3 separate regions of the Homo sapiens genome follow, and regions 2 and 3 are each linked to region 1. Evidence: promoter capture Hi-C in human tissues and cell types (Jung and others, 2019). All regions are on one chromosome and are shown on one strand. The core of a region is centred on a gene start or on the middle of the fragment in contact, and the rest is flanking DNA. Distances in the headings are between cores, read along the strand shown. Region 1 holds the start of DDX31 (DEAD-box helicase 31). Region 2 holds the start of UCK1 (uridine-cytidine kinase 1). Region 3 overlaps RAPGEF1 (Rap guanine nucleotide exchange factor 1).

The links. The method cuts DNA at HindIII sites, captures the fragments that hold promoters and counts their contacts. A contact is called where the count stands out against the background at its distance.
Region 2: the fragment with the promoter of UCK1 here is called in contact with the fragment with the promoter of DDX31 in region 1 in 1 of the 25 tissues and cell types used here (dorsolateral prefrontal cortex).
Region 3: a contact is called between a fragment that was not itself captured here and the fragment with the promoter of DDX31 in region 1, in 1 of the 25 tissues and cell types used here (dorsolateral prefrontal cortex).

What each region holds. Positions count from the first base shown.
Region 1 is chr9:132,668,208-132,671,555 of GRCh38, reverse strand. DDX31 (DEAD-box helicase 31) reads left to right here and starts at 1,573. Exons shown (of 20, transcript NM_022779.9): 1 at 1,573-1,696. The coding sequence starts at 1,622. GTF3C4 (general transcription factor IIIC subunit 4) reads right to left here and starts at 1,092. Exons shown (of 5, transcript NM_012204.4): 1 at 601-1,092. The coding sequence starts at 957. RefSeq lists silencers at 804-933, 1,354-1,503 and enhancers at 1,084-1,163, 849-1,716. The HindIII fragment of the contact is 5,477 bases long and covers 1-3,348 here.
Region 2 is chr9:131,529,416-131,532,763 of GRCh38, reverse strand. It overlaps UCK1 (uridine-cytidine kinase 1), which reads left to right and starts at 1,501. Exons shown (of 7, transcript NM_031432.5): 1 at 1,501-1,697; 2 at 2,119-2,278; 3 at 3,180-3,276. The coding sequence starts at 1,590. RefSeq lists silencers at 1,096-1,265, 1,406-1,765, 1,966-2,015 and enhancers at 1,431-2,344, 3,050-3,348. The HindIII fragment of the contact is 11,870 bases long and covers 1-3,348 here.
Region 3 is chr9:131,609,555-131,612,902 of GRCh38, reverse strand. All of the region lies in intron 12 of RAPGEF1 (Rap guanine nucleotide exchange factor 1), which reads left to right. Among named protein-coding and RNA genes, the nearest start is that of PRRT1B, 66 kb to the right of the region's middle. The HindIII fragment of the contact is 6,269 bases long and covers 1-3,348 here.

The DNA of each region.
Region 1 (3,348 bases), core at 324-2,823:
TTTAGCTAGTAAAGAAAAACTAAAGTACAAACCCCGAGATCCAGTATTTACCCGTTTGCCCAAGGAGAGGCGAGGACCATTCATAATAAAGTCACTGAAACAATTAAGACAATGGATGGGACCAGTTTTTCTTTTCTGAAGCTAAAGAGGCGCGAGAGGAGGACACACACAGTAGACAAAGCCAGCCAAGAACCTCGGAAAGTCGGCCCCAAACAATAGCAGCAACGACAGAGGCAGGCCCCGGGTTGGATCTACAGGGGGTGGAGTCTCAGAAAGCACCATCGAGTAACCCGCTCCATGTGCGGGCCCGACGGAGGGGCGAAGGAGGGGTTCCTGGGACTCAACTCCGGGAAGCCCCCTGGGTGTGTACCTGTGTTTGCGGCGGCGGGTGACCTGGGGAAACAGGGTGCAGACAGCTGCAGAGCTTTTCTTTTTTTTTTTTTAAGCTGTGGTAACCCTGGCTGCTTAATAAATCCCCAGCGCTCGGTGCGAAGAGGGAAATCCCCGGACAGAGTGTGGGATCGGATTCCCCTGGGACGGATGATGCGGCCGCGAGAGGGGGACAGGGGAAGACCCCAGGGATGGCGGGGGATGACTTACTTTGAGGAGACAGCTGTTGAGCGGTGCGGGCACCGAGGTGCGGTGGATAACCAGGTCCTGGCCCGGGTTGTGCACGTCGCAGATGAGCTCCAGCACAGCGATGCTGCGGGCCGTGGACACAGACACGCGGTGGTCCTCGGACCAAGCCAGCGGTTCCAGGCCGCTCACCGCATACTGCAGCTTCACGGCCGGCTCCCGCCGAGTCACCATGAGGCGGAATGCAGCGCTGGGCCCCGGGGCCGCGTCCGCTGCTGGCTCCTTCCCGCCCGCCTCGCCGCCCCCCTCTCCCTCCTCCTCCCCAGACGGCGCAGGCCCGTCGTCCGCGGGCCCCACCCGGGCCTGGTCGGCCGTGTTCATCTTCTCTCAGGTGCAGAGGTCGGACGCCCTGGCGCTCCACGCAGTCGCGCGACCACCTCCCGGACCGCCGCCGCCACCCCCAGCGCCCTCCGCGGCGGTTTTCTCCCCTCAGGCCCCGAGCGCCGCCGAGCCAAGAAGGACCCCGCCGTTGCCAGGCAACGCGGCCCTACCAGGTGGCCAAGGAACTGCCTGTCCAGAAAAAGGACAGCGAGCGGGGAGCCCCGAGGACCCCCTTTTCCCTGCCCAGGGATTGAGCTCCAGAGCCTGTTAGGGAGCTACCCAGACAGGCTTTAGTTCCTAAAGTGCTGAGGAAACGCACGGGGCGGTAAAGGGGAGGCTCGTCGGTGAGATGGCGCCGGATCTCGCTTCTCAGAGGCATTCAGAGAGCTTCCCCAGCGTGAACTCTCGGCCGAATGTAATTTTGCCAGGCCGCGAGGGACGCAGAGAGGGGCTGCCACCAGGCGGGGGCACGCGCGGTAGTCTTGTCCCTACCCGCCCGGTGCCGCCGTCCCCGGCTCCCCTCGGGACGAGTCCGTACAGCTGGAGCCGTTCCGGACCCGGAAGGGGCGGTGGCGCAGGGTCCTCGCGCGTCCCACGTGGGGTCCCGGGCCCAGCAGTCTGCGCACCGGGCTCGCTGCTGCACCACGCGTCACCCACGCAGACCATGGCAGCCGCCGACGGTTCGCTCTTCGACAACCCCAGGACGTTCTCCAGACGTCCCCCAGCCCAGGCGAGTCGGGTGAGTTCTGACCCGGCTTCAGCTCCGTCCCCACCCGCGGCCCGGCTGTGGGCGCGCCGCGAGCTGCAGCCGTGCCTTGGAGTCGGGTTTCGAGTCATTCACGGAGTTAAGCGGGAGAAAGACACCGGGCAGCTTCGGGACAAGTTGCGCCGAAACACGTGTCTCTAACCGGAACACCACCCGCAGGGATGCGCCTGGAAGCGGGGAGTGGAGCGGTGTGGAGGGGCGGGGAGCTGGCTCCTGCGCCTAGAAAAGTAAAGGAAGGAATTAGAGGCTGTTTCCCGTGGAAGGTAGGACCTGAAGTTCCGGCGCAAGTCCCAGGCCAAAGCTTAACTTCTCTAAGCCAGTTTCCTCGACTGAGTGCGGACTAAGCTCTGATTTTTTTTTTTATCTTGCCCACATTCCTGTCTGGGAAGAGTCATGCCCTACAAACCATAAATTCTCATCAGATGGCTTTCATTTAACCCTATATATCGTGACTTACTTTCCAAACTGGCTCTGGCCTAACATTATGTGACAAAGAAGAAAGTTAAAATATTACCCCTAAACATGTTTCTTTGCCACATTTTGAAATGGCTTTGCAAAGCTGTTCTTTGGGGGGGGCGGGCGGGGTGGACATTTGCATCTGCAAAGAATCTCTATTAACATAGCTAGATCTTTTTCTTCCAGGCCCTCCCAATCCTAAAGAGATTAAGAGTCTACCACCTTTCAAAGATCTGAATAGGAAACACTTGTCTGTTGTCTCTAAGGGCAGCCACTAAAGACTTGAAAAGAACCTTGGTCTCCACAATCTTTTATCTTAACCTGAGCATTTTCTTTGTATCCATCCCAGGTGTTTAGACAAACTCAACCGTCAACTAGAAAATGTTTAAATTTACCTATAGCCTGGAAGCCCCCGCTTTGAGTTGTCCCACCTTTCTGGACAAAACCAGTGTATTTCTGAAATGTATTTGATGTCTCATGCCTCTCTAGAATGTATAAAACCAAGCCGCGGCCGGGCGCGGTGGCTCACGCCTGTAATCCCAGCACTTTGGGAGGCCGAGGCAGGCGGATCACGAGGTCAGGAGATCGAGACCATCCTGGCTAACAAGATGAAACCCCCGTCTCTACTAAAAATACAAAAAATTAGCTGGGCGTGGTGGTGGGCGCCTGTAGTCCCAGCTACTCGGGAGGCTGAGGCAGGAGAATGGCGTGAACCCAGGAGGCGGAGCTTGCAGTGAGCCGAGATCATGCCATTGCACTCCAGCCTGGGCAACAGAACGAGACTCCGTCTCAAAAAAAAAAAAAAAAGCTGCACCCCGACCACCTTGGGCACATGTTCTCAGGACCTCTCGAGGGCTGGATCATGGGCCATGGTCACTCATACTTGGCTCAGAATAAGTCTCTTCAGATATTTTTGAGTTTAACTCTTTTGGTCGCCATGAGGAAGGTTCGTTTGTTTCAGGAATGAGGACTGGCAACTAGGAGTTTTTTTGAAGAGCTTTCAAAAATGGGACAGATTTTCATCCCCATGCAATGGAGGGGGATAGGAAAATCGGTTTCATTGATATAATCCCATTGCTAGAGAGGGGTAAGATGCCCTAGAATTAACTTAAGCAGTAACTGAAAACTGGTTTCTAGGATAGTTGATTTGTCTCTTAGAAAAGAGGACT
Region 2 (3,348 bases), core at 252-2,751, 1.1 Mb after region 1:
CCAGGTTTGGTCAGGAGGCAGAAGCAGGGGCGAGGGGAGAGCCCAGGCCTGAGGCTTTCTTGGGGTTTCCATGGAAAAGGCCTGGCAGGGCAGGGAAAGAGTTTAAAATTGGCTAGTTTGAGTAATTCTAGCAGGCTCTGGGCTGCAGAGTGGTCTCTAGTCACCTGATACCTGGCCCTGGGTGACTTAGGGCAGGGAGAATCTTGCCTCCAAAGGCGAGAATTAGATAAGGAGGTAGCTGGGGCTGTAGACTTGGGGTCTTTTTTTTTTTTTTTTTTTTTTTTGAGACAGAGTCTCACTCTTTCCCCCAGGCCGGAGTGCAGTAGCGTGATCTTGGCTCACTGCAAGCTCCACCTCCCGGGTTCACACCATTCTCCTGCCTCAGCCTCCCGAGTAGCTGGGACCACAGGCGCCCGCCACCATGCCCGGCTAATTTTTTGTATTTTTAGTAGAGACGGGGTTTCACCATGTTAGCCAGGATGGTCTCGATCTCCTGACCTCGTGATCCACCCGCCTCGGCCTCCCAAAGTGCTGGGATTACAGGTGTGAGCCACCGCGTCCGCCCGGGGTTGTCTGTTTTGTATATGAAAAGCATGCTCTGCCCCGAGCCTTAGCTATCTCTCTCTCTTTTTTATTTTTGAGACGGAGTCTTGCTCTGTGGCCCAGGCTGGAGTGCAGTGGCACCATCTCGGCTCACTGCAACCTCCACCTCCCGGGTTCAAGCGATTCTCCTGCCTCAGCCTCCCAAGTAGCTGGGATTACAGGCGCCCGCCACCACGCCCAGCTGATTTGTTGCATTTTTAGTAGAGGCGGGGTTTCACCGTGTTCGCCAGGATGGTCTCGATCTCCTGACCTCGTGATCTACCCGCCTCAGCCTCCAAAAGTGTTGGGATTACAGGCGTGAGCCACCGCGCCCGGCTGGAAATCCATAATTTCAATGGATCAGAATTTGCCTGTCACGTTCTCTGTGCCAGGCACGGAGCGGGGGGGCGGCAGGGATGGAACCCGGCACATGGGCCTCTGCCTCCTTGGCGCGCTGTAGGCGCGAGCCTAAAGTCATCAGGCGACAGCCCCCGCCACGTTCCGGGGCGCCCCGACGGCTCCAGCAGCGGGTGGGGTGGGAGGCGTCCGGACAGTCCGGAGGCCTCGATGGCCAAGAGGAGCCTGGGCTGGAGGGGGCCAGGCCCGGGGGCGGCCGGGGGAGGGCCCGGGACTGGCGCAGAGGCAGCGCGAGGCAGAGGCAAGCACTCGGACGAAGGCGCAGCCCCAGCCTCGGGGTGCGGAACGGGCACCTTCCGGGCCACTTGAGTCTGAGACCTTGTAGCCGGCTCGAGGCCCGGGCGCAGCAGTCCCTGCCAGCCAGCTTTCGGCGCAATGGGACGCGGGCGCTCCTGGTGTGCCGGCCTCGGGCCCTGCACCCTCACGCATGCGCGGCCCCCCCCCCCCCGGTGGACTACAACTCCCGGCGTGCCCCGCGCGCCTCCCGGAAGTGATCGCTCCGGTTGCCTCCGACCTCGGCGCTGGGCGGGCGCGCCGGGCCTGGGGAAGGGGCGGGCGCGGGGACCCGATGCGCGGGAGCGGAGGCCGAGATGGCTTCGGCGGGAGGCGAAGACTGCGAGAGCCCCGCGCCGGAGGCCGACCGTCCGCACCAGCGGCCCTTCCTGATAGGGGTGAGCGGCGGCACTGCCAGCGGGAAGGTAAGGGGCCGAGCGGGCCGGGGTCTCGCCTCTCGCCGGTGCCTACGGGCGGCCCGGTCCAGAGAGGAGACCCCAGCCCCGGCCGAGGGGCCCCCTGCCAGGCAGGGGCAGGGCGCGGGAGCGAAGGGGCTGCAGGCCGCGATGGGCCGGGGCGGGCTGGGGCGGGCGAGGGGTTGGGGCGCTGGGCCTCGGGGCTCCCCCACAGCCTCTCCGCCGGCCGGGCTCCTCGGAGCCCCAAGTCCGTGCTAACCCCGTTGGGCCCCCGCGGCCCTTCCGCTGAGACCATCCACACCTGTTGGTGTCCTCCCGCCTTCCGAGCATACCCCCCAGGGGGCGGGTGGGTCAGTGTCTCCAGAAGCCGGCCCCGTGCCTGTCACAGGACGAGCGGTTCCAGGCGGGAATCCCGCTTCTGTGTCTCCAGTCGACCGTGTGTGAGAAGATCATGGAGTTGCTGGGACAGAACGAGGTGGAACAGCGGCAGCGGAAGGTGGTCATCCTGAGCCAGGACAGGTTCTACAAGGTCCTGACGGCAGAGCAGAAGGCCAAGGCCTTGAAAGGACAGTACAATTTTGACCATCCAGGTAAATCGCGAGCCCAACGATGTGGGGAGGGCAGACCCCATTCTGGGCGGCCGCTAACCAGCTGCGCTTGGGCCCAAGGTTGGATGGATGCAGACCCGCTTGGGCTGTTCCCCCAACTCGCCACGCAGCCTGCAGTGGAGTTGGCTGCACAGTGAAGTCAGGGGAACTTTGCTGAGTTCTCTGGGCCCTGAGTGTCCCCCCAGGAGCGTGGTTGGAGCCAGTCAGGAAGCCTGTTGCACTGTGGGGAGCCCTGCCCTGCCCTGCCACAACTGTGATCCTGGAGAAATCCTCCCATCTTCCCTTCCCACGTTGGGGCCTTTAGGGCCCTCCACACACACCTCTGCCCACTGTGCCCTCCCGTGCTTTGGGGCAAAGTCCTCAGAGAGGCCAGTGTGGGAGGCGGTAGGTAAACTAGTGCTGGTGGCTTGAAGCTCCGGGCCAGGTAAACGGGCAGATGCGGCAGGGAGACACCTGCCACTGCTAGAAGATTCCACCCTGGCTGGCTGGCATGGTCAGCCTTTTCCCAAGGACTTGTGGGAAGAAGGCCTGCAAAGCCGCAGTCTAACCAGTTAGTCCCAGAAAGAGAGAGAAGCAGAGGCCCAGCCTACCCACCTCCCAGGAAGAGCTGATCAGAAAACCCCTGTGTTCCGGCATCTCAGGGGCACAGAGCTTGGGCAGTGGCACAGCCCGAGAACAGCAAGGACAGGGTCATCCTGTGGTCTGCAGGGCTGCAGAGGGCACTGTTGCTACCAAACATACACTGCCGTAGTCCTAGTCTACCTGTGCTAGGGTTCTCGGTGTCCCCAGCACCCAGCTGTGCTGACCCCAGAGCAGAGAGGGTTCCCTGCTGTCCGCTGCACGAGGGCATCTGCCTGTCTTGCCTTTGTCTCCAACCCTGCAGATGCCTTTGATAATGATTTGATGCACAGGACTCTGAAGAACATCGTGGAGGGCAAAACGGTGGAGGTGCCGACCTATGATTTTGTGACACACTCAAGGTAAGCAGGTGGTTCTAGGGAGGGCCGAGGAGAGGGGCCAGCTAGGACGTCCCCTCGGGCTCACACAGACCT
Region 3 (3,348 bases), core at 531-3,030, 1.1 Mb after region 1:
ATTTTCTTCCTCATTTTCCTTCCCTACTGACCTGAGGCTCTGGCTGCTGTGTCTGACTCAAGAGTTTCCCAGGTAGTTCCTGTCTGCAGAGCCCTTGAAACACAGTTTGGCTCCTGCAGTGCGTTCCCCCTGTGCTTTTCCACTCTTCCTAAAAGACCCAGTGCTGCTCTGAAGTGTGAAGGCTGGATTAGATCCCACTCAGCTTGACCTGGTCTTGTGGAAGGAGGTACATGCAGACCAGAGCCCCTTCCAGGTCACTGCGACCCTCGGGATAACGTAGAGCCACCTATAGAGAAAGGCCCAGCTCTGGAGGAGACGGCGTTACCTCCTGAGCCCAGGAGCGAGCCTGCCTTGCCTTACTGTGGGCAGTAGGGAGTATGCCCATCTCAGCAGCAGGACTGGTCACAGCCTTGACAGCAGGAACAGAGCTGAGAGTGCCTCGCATTGGGGGCTTTCAAAAGCAACCACTCTGATGCAGCTGTTTCCAACCCCTGGTTGTAGACTTTGAGAATCTTTATTGTTTACAGCCTGGCATTTTGGCTGATCGGTGCCCCTTGACCAGCTTCAGGCACAGTAGTGTCACTGTAGCACCTGGCCGTGGTTGTACTTCTGACTCCATCCATGACAGGCAAACTGTCATGTGGGAGTTCAGTCAGGGTGGTGGGGAAAATTACAGAGGAGAAGTTTTAAGATAAAGTTATAGGAAATAGACACAAACCTTCTTGGAAGGCTGGTACCCACAGGATCCCCATTCCTTGTAAAGGTCGTGCACTGACACGCATCCTGAGGGCCAGTTCCACGTCCAGTGCCTCTCGCCTTTACTTCCACGTCAGGCTACTGTTTCCCTATCGAGGGCCTTCCTTCCTATTCTGTGATCAAATGGTTCACTGCAGTTCTAGAGATGGAGAAGCCAGGAGAGAGAAGCTGAGCCATTTGTTCCAAGTTAAGCTAGAGCCAGGGTTGGAATCCAGAACCCTATCATGAAAAATACAGCGTTAGATTAACATTTTTGAACTGCTTAATTGCCCATTTTTGAACTGCTTAATTGCCAAATAAATTTTGAGATCTCGTAAGGCTGGGTCAAAAGAAAAGTGTGTAGGCTGGACGTTGAGAGGCGTGTATTTCTCCTTCATGTTCTGACATGTTACAAAGTGTAGCTACAGGCTCTAAATAGAGTTCTAAGAATAAGTATAAATTAGAGCCCCTGTCAGGCTGTTGAAATGCAAACTGAGTAAAAATAGTTGTCAGACTTCTAGAACTGAATTTGAATCATTTTTCAGTCTGTACTAAATCTTTCTATAAAGGGTTGATGTTATTCAGATCAACACTTAGTGAATTACAGAGCATCCTAGAATGTATTGGAGGTTTTGCAAGAGTTAATTTGCCATGAAGCCATTGGCCAAAACGTAGTATTTTCAGTGGAGATATTGTGATTCCAGTTGCAAAAATACATCACATGAGAAGGAACTTAATAAGGAACTTTTGCATTCACCCATCTTCTCCCAAGCAACGCATTTTTGTTCTTTTACATCCTTTTTTCTTAGGATATTCAGGTGGTTTTTAAAAATAAGCTCCACTAAGGAGTTTATTTGAAAAGGGAGAAGATATTTTTTGGACCCAACATAATGCTAATGTTGCCTTTCTTTGGTGAGAAGAATGCCATCTTGTCATTCACACAGTGTGGCCCACAGGACTGCCTTCTTACCAGGATCAAAGACAAAACGGTCAGTGGCAGATCTCAGTTCATGTGCATGTGGCATTGGCCTCAGAACCTACCACTTGGCTTTGGAACTCATCTTTTGACATTATGTAAGGTATAGTTATTGTTTTAAATTAACACAAGGGCATCAAGGAAAAGGAGTTGCCCCTGGGCCTAAGGTAGACCCTACTGTGTAAACCAGTAGTTAATTGGGACCGTAAGGAAAGAGAAGACAAAGCCAGAGGTATCCCTAATAGTTTGCCAAATGGAGTAACAAGGAGTGTTACCAAGCACCTTTCCTGGGGCAGGAGGGTGTCCTGGGAGTGGTCATACCCCATCTCTATAAGAATCAAATCAGATAAGCTTTTCTCCCCAGACAATCACGTGGGTGTCATCATCAGTGAAAAGCTCAATTTCCTTCCAGAATAGATAAATTAGGGCCCACACTTTGAGGCTCACAGTCCCCTAGTTGAAGGACATATGTGCTCTGAGCCCAGCGCCAGTGCTGAGCTGTGGCTCCCATTGATTCTCCGCTGAGGAAGGAAGCCCAGACCACACTAGAAAAGCAGCTTCCCCTGAATGTGTTTTCTCACAAATGAGGGATAAAAATTTAAGCCCGAAAACCAGCTGTCCAATAGCTTATCTGTTTTGCTAAGTAGCATCCAAAAACTCTGAAGTCATAAGCCTTACTTGAGCCAAGATTATGCAGTAATGACCAATTTCTGGCAACTTCTCTTCCCAAACACTTCACCATGCCAGTGAATCCATTCATTTACATGACCACATTTCGCTGTAACTGGTGGAGCTGACAATTCTCCAGGGCTTGGAGCTCAAGTCACTGTGGAGCAACCATTCTGATCAAGGTTCCTCAGCCTGTGTCCCTAACCCTCAGCCGCTGATGAGCAGACAGCCTCCTCTGGCACGCGCTCTTCCTGATCAGCAGAGGAATTAAGTGGAGTGGCTGTTATATTGAGGACTCAGAATTGTTCCTTTAAAGATCTGCTTTCCTGCTGGGCACGATGGCTCACGCCTATAATCACAGCACTTTGGGAGGCTGAGGTAGGAGGATCACTTGAGCCCAGGAGTTCAAGACCAGCCTGAGCAACACAGCAAAACGCTATCTCTACAAAATCCAAAAAATCAGTTGTACCTGGCGACACATGCCTATATTCCCCCCTATTTGAGAGGCTGAGGCAGGAGAATCAGTTGAACCCAGGAGGTTGAGGCTACAGTGAGCCAAGACCGCATCACTGCACTCCAACCTGGGTGACAGAGCGAGACCCTGTCTCAAAAAAAGAAAGGAAGAAAAAGATCTTTCCTGCTTTCTTGCTAAGGCAACACAGAGCCCATCCCTAATCCTTTTTCCATGCCAGGACTATAATAGAGAGAAGGTGTCACCGAAAACTAGTGCCTTTTCTAAGTATTTTACTTGTGAGAAAAAAAACTGGTGCCTGGCCAGCTTCAGGCAGCTTTGCCTTTTAATGAATTGGCCACACGCTCGCATATGAGGTCATCAGCCTCCAGCATCGTTTCGACTCCGGGGCCCAGTGGCTTTCAGGGGTGTGTTTCCAAAGGAGCTGGTTACTGATTCCACCTTTTCCCTGCCTGTCCTGCCACACTCTGGCCAGTGCACCCCTCTCTCCATCCTG